Linked DNA regions of Homo sapiens: region 2 is linked to region 1. The links are contacts of gene promoters, found by promoter capture Hi-C in human tissues and cell types (Jung and others, 2019). All regions are on one chromosome and are shown on one strand. Each heading gives the region's core, a stretch centred on a gene start or on the middle of the fragment in contact. The rest is flanking DNA. Distances are from core to core; before and after follow the strand shown.

Region 1 (2,720 bases), core at 99-2,598:
ATATTTTATGTGTGGTAAAGGCAAAAAATGTATACAAACGTGCAGACATTTAATATATTATAATAATGTAAATATTTATATTTCCAAAAAGAAACTAGAAAAACGGTTACATGTGACAGAGTGGGACAGTAGTCAGGTACAGGAGTTCTCGGTAAATACTGTTCTAAATCTTCTTTTAGTCATATAAACGCATTGCTTATTTTTAAAACTAAAAAAAATAATAATTCTGAAGTTTGAATGTCTCTCATGTCTTATAGCAGAGGGACAAATCCCTATTTCAGAACCTTTCTTCCAAAATATGTCTAGTAGGCTCGCCCAAGGTAAACATTTCATATTCTAACACCAACCACATTTCTCTAGTAAAATGACCTAAATGCACTGTAATAGTAAAACATCCAGTTCATTAAAGCACATTAATCTTTAGTAAGTCAAAACAGGACCAGGAATATCTGCTTTACCTTTAAAAAAGGGGCGGGGGACTTCTGAAAGAAAATAATTTGCTGGCTAGGTTGAAGGTTACAGAAAAAGTCTTAGAGCAAATGGATTTTTGTTTTGACTGCATTTAACAATCTCGGTCTTCTGATCGCAAAGAACTGATAAAACGGACCAGTTTTACTTCCTGAACCTATGACTTAATTGTTTTAAATGCCTTTAAGTAACAGTCTGGGTAAATCATCTAAGTCATAAAACAAAGGCGTGGGAACTTTAAGTAAAAAGTGAGTGATGTTAGCAGGTTGGCACACATCACTCAATAATGAGCAAAGCTATTTTTTTTCAATTTTTTTTTCTTAAAGTACCCTGTATTCAAAGACTTTTAAAAAATAGCAGTGAGATTATGGATAGGAGAGCAACTTTAAATTCGTTCCCTACTGTAGTCGAATTGTTAAATACGTGACTTTGAAAACGTATCACAAAATCTAAACACAAGGTTCAGGATTTTTGTTAGGTTGAACTGTCAGGAGGGGATTCCTTACAAAGAATAAACGAGAGCTCTGAGGGCCTAACGAATTATCCAGATTGCTCCAAACGGCCACCGCGGCGCAGATGGGCGGACAAGCGCCGGGCCTCAGCGGAACCCAAGGTGCCGGAGCCCTCCCCGGCTCTCAAGCAGCCCACGGCCTTGCTGGGTGGGACACATTCCAAACCCAGGAAGGGGGCGAAGGGGGCAAAAGAAGGCAGGTCTGGGGCGGGCCGGGCCCGAACCCCAGGCGCCCCAGCCCCCTGGGCTTCCCCACCCCACCAGACGGACACTTACTGAAGGACATTTTCCGGGGTGTCCATGGCCAGAGGACGCTGGCCGGCAGCGGCCAAACCTGAACCGCAAACTAGAAGCCGCCGCCGATTCGAATACCCCGCGCAGCCGCAGTCGGCTCGCCGAACGTTTCAGGGCGCCTGCCCATTGGTGGCGGCGGCAGAAGGTTGGCCAATCACCGGGGCCGTTGCTCGGAGGTCAAGTCCCACCTCCCTCCCTTGAGCCAGTAGCTCCTCCCACTTCCCGTGGTTTTCGGTTGAACCGAAACCTGGCCGTTGGCTGAGCGAGCGCGGGGTGTTTGGGATGCGGCACGGCGAGGGGGAGCAGGCTTGGCTCGGGCGTAGGGAATTGGTTTTTTTGTTTTAGCTATCCAGGTTGTGACTGGTTTACATAATTACACGATTAAGCCATCATTGTAGGAAAGGCTTTGCAGGAGAAAAATGTCTTAACTGGAGGTCTTTGAGACAGAAAAACCCTGCCTCAGCCCTTGGGTCCTGAGAGTCGCGTTTCTTCTCCCCTTCGCTTAAATATGTAAACCAGAATCATTATGTTTGGTTCATGGAACGGAGGAAAAAAATCCGTGTGCAGGGTCGAGACTGTCGTGGCGGAAGCCGCAGCACCCGGGAGGCAGGTGGGGAGAAAAAACGGGACCTGCTGCCGGGGACCCCTCCCGCTTTCTGGCAGTTTTCTATTCAGCGTCCTCGGCTGTGAGAAAACATCCCAGATGCTGAAACCAATAGTCTTAGCCCAGAATCTCAAACGCCGTGGCAAAGAGGGAGTGACGACGGCCTGTGGAAAAACCTGAGGAGTTTTGGGCTTAGCGCCTTCATGTAGAGGGGACGTGGAGGCGGGGAGGGCGTTCTAGGGTCGGCTGCGTAATTATACGAGGCACTGGAAAGTGATGGGTTAGTGTCCTTGGAGTAGACCCCTGGGTTTTATTGAACTGATCTGAAAGGCTGGGCCCTGAGCCACACAGGGGACCTGTCAAACAGCTTCAAGCGGAAGATGGGGCTCACGGGACTGGACTCTCTCTGCAGCCAGCTGTAATTAACACAAAAGCAGAAGAGTTTGGGTAGATTATAGAATGCCAGCTTTGAACATCTTTTGGGGGACAGGGCACTCTGGGAGACCAAGTTCTTAGACACCATAAAATCAAAAATAGACACCTCTTTGTAGAGGAGTCCAGATGTCTAAAGAGGAAATATGTAATAGGCTGATGTTTCTTTTGTTTTTTGTTTGTTTGTTTTTTGAAAAGTTAAAATACTAAGTTTATAAAGTGAAAAAGTTACAGTAAGCTAAGGTTGACTTATTGGAAAAAATGTGCTTATACTATGGAATGAGACCACCACTTCTCCTGTTGTCCCTCCCAGCTTCTTCTCCACCACCTCCCCTTTTCCCTAGTTTATAAGACAGGAGAAAAGTGAGACAGCAAAAAGTTAGAAAGAAACAGAAGTAAGATAAATAGCTA
Region 2 (2,720 bases), core at 132-2,631, 38 kb before region 1:
AGAGCTCAAGAGTTAAGAGTTCCAACTACTATAATTGTTAAAATTAACTGCAGAAACTCCAGAACATGGAGATAAGGTGTTGGAGAGAAAGTAGAATGCAAAGGAATTGTGCTCCACATAGGAAATGCCATCAGGCCTGCTGAGGGTTAACTTCCAGCTCTTCTTCACACTGGTGGTCAGAGATGAAACTATCTGTTCCTTCAATTTTGAGCCAAAGATGGAATAAAGTATTTACTAAACATGAGGGCTCATTATGCAGAATAAAGAATAGTTGTTATAAGCTTTCCTCCAGGGCCTGAACCTAACCTTACTTATGTACAGTATATGACATTTCATAAAATTATTGCCATTTTTCTTTTTTTTTTGTGGGGGCTGGGGGAGATGAGGTTCACAGATGAGGTTCCTACTCTTACGTTTTCTCAAGAAGATATAAACATATGTAAAAGTCCATTAGGCTGTACACTTAAGATGAGTGTACTTTTCTGCATGTTTTTATGCCTCAAAAAAGAAAGTATAAGTGATATAATGAATATGCAGGTACCAAATACTCAGCTTAAACAAAACATTCCAACAGTTTGTTCACACATTGTGTTAGGAGAGCCATCCATGTTGACAGGAAGAGCTCTTGCCTAATCATGAATTTTCACTGTGATTTATAGATAAAAAAAAATCTTTGAGAAGCCCAAGAAACACAGGGCTAGGACTGTCCTGTGAGAGAGAGCTATTCATATTACTTTATAATTTATGAAGCACTTTCACATACACTATTTCCTTCGCTTCTTACAAATATCTGACAAAAATAGGATCAGTATTTCCATAGACCAAAAAAAAAAAAAAGAAAAAAAAGAAAAAAGAAAAAACCAGTGAGAACCTGAGGTCCAGTGACATTAGGTGATTAGGGGTGGAAACATTTGCGTGTGTACAGGATGTCAACCATTTGGCCAGGAGCTTTCAGTGAGGACATCAGCTGCCCCAGTGGGGAGAGAGAAGTGGTAAAGCTATGCAGCTTGCTCCCTGTGCCCAGTGCCCAGGACTGTCCTGTCACCATATTGCCCAAGGCATAGGATTTCCATGCGGTGGCAGAGATCCTTTTTTTTTTTTTGCCAGATGGAACCCAACATTCTACTTTAGTTATTCTCTTTTCACTACAGCACCAATGCTAATACTCACCTTCTAAAAAGACCTTCAGGCTTACACTCTCCTCCTTCATTTTTCACTTTCATGTAAGTGCCAAAGAGCATGCAATATACTGTTGCAGCAACCCCAAAGTAATCGATCTATGAAGAAGATAGAGGTATATATGACTTAAATAGTAATTTACACATGACTATATCAAGATGCCTGTCTAACTTAGGCAGCAAGTTAAATACTCACAGGATTTTACTTTTAAAACATTTTGGAAGGCATTTGTTCAATCGCCCCACTAACATGTCTTACTGAATATCTAGGCTTTGCCACAGGCTTCCAGTCTCTTGAAAAGCTCTGCCCTCCTGAGCTACCATGTCCCTCTCAAGTCCTTCATTCTGTCACACAGAGGACAAACACAACACTCTAAGCCCTCTTCCACATAGACAGCTTGGAAGTCCTCCCAGCTCACTCCCCTGGGACTCTGGTCGTAGTTCTCTAACTCGCCCCCATGGCCTCTTGTTGTGTGATATGTTCATAATTGAAAAGAACACTCCAGCCCCATCCACATCCACAGGATAGAAGATGACCATCTCCTAAGGCCTCACTAGCAGTGACAACATACCAGAAACAAGACCCCTCCCCACCCCCACCAAATCTTTGCCCCTTTTACCATGGGCTCCTGGAAAGACATAGCTCTCACCAGGGAACTTGGCAGTTGGTTTTGTTAAACCCAGGTTCAAAATATTTCATTTATCCCAATTAGCATTCTCCTCCCTGGTCACCTAATATTCTAGTTGGTTGAAAATTCAGCAGTCTTCCATTAGAATAATAATGATCCATTTCTTGATCTGGCCAGTTAGGAATCTGGCTGTACCATCTATTACAGTCAAACCCACCATCCTGCCTGAGAGCATCCCAGGTATATCCAACATGTGCTCAACTCTGCCTGGAGTGGGCATGCAGGTCTCCCTGTTATCCCTGATTTAGGAAATTGGGCTGGCCTACCTTGATCTCAATAAACCAAGCTGTCTCTTTGCTGCATGACTTCCTTTCTGAAGGGTTCACTAATCATTAAATACTCTTCCCTATGATCAAACTCACAGAATATATCTGCCCCCCTTTCCTGATAACAGGATCTATAATGGACTAATAAGAAAGCAGAGTATTCTTCAGGAATAGAATTCTATCCCTGCCATGTTGGCCTTAGGCTCATCTCTCCTTCAACTGCTCCTCAAAAGACCACCTCAAACTACCTAGATCCCCAAATTCATTTTGAAAATCTGATAAGCGCAACACAGAAAAATATTTCCAAGTCCCTCACTTTAGTTTTATACCTGGTAGTTCCATGGTTTGTTGCTGAGCATCTCAACACACTGAAAACCAGATGTTTCACACTTTGCTGTGAATATAGTTCCTTTTGGAAAAAGTTTCATATCTATACTCTGACCCAGGTCAATCAGTGCCAAGCCAGCAGATAAATCATCTTCATCATCCTGTTCCAAAAATCTATATTAAACACAAACAAAGCCAGGCTGCATGAGCACAAATGATGAAAGGCTGCTATGGAAATAGGAAGAGAAGAACCCTGTTAA

What was found. Contacts are between HindIII fragments. The study calls those that stand out against the background at their distance.
Region 2: a fragment that was not itself captured here is called in contact with the fragment with the promoter of BUB1 in region 1 in 1 of the 25 tissues and cell types used here (pancreas).

The regions. Positions count from the first base shown.
Region 1 is chr2:110,676,715-110,679,434 of GRCh38, forward strand. BUB1 (BUB1 mitotic checkpoint serine/threonine kinase) reads right to left here and starts at 1,349. Exons shown (of 25, transcript NM_004336.5): 1 at 1,256-1,349. The coding sequence starts at 1,281. LOC105373554 (a long non-coding RNA gene) reads left to right here and starts at 1,498. Exons shown (of 2, transcript XR_923189.4): 1 at 1,498-1,883. RefSeq lists enhancers at 605-1,525, 1,526-2,446, 1,959-2,018, 2,279-2,368 and a silencer at 1,049-1,448. The HindIII fragment of the contact is 12,584 bases long and covers 1-2,720 here.
Region 2 is chr2:110,638,572-110,641,291 of GRCh38, forward strand. BUB1 (BUB1 mitotic checkpoint serine/threonine kinase) reads right to left here. Exons shown (of 25, transcript NM_004336.5): 23 at 2,463-2,634; 24 at 1,171-1,277. Among named protein-coding and RNA genes, the nearest start is that of SNORD132, 18 kb to the right of the region's middle. The HindIII fragment of the contact is 3,511 bases long and covers 1-2,720 here.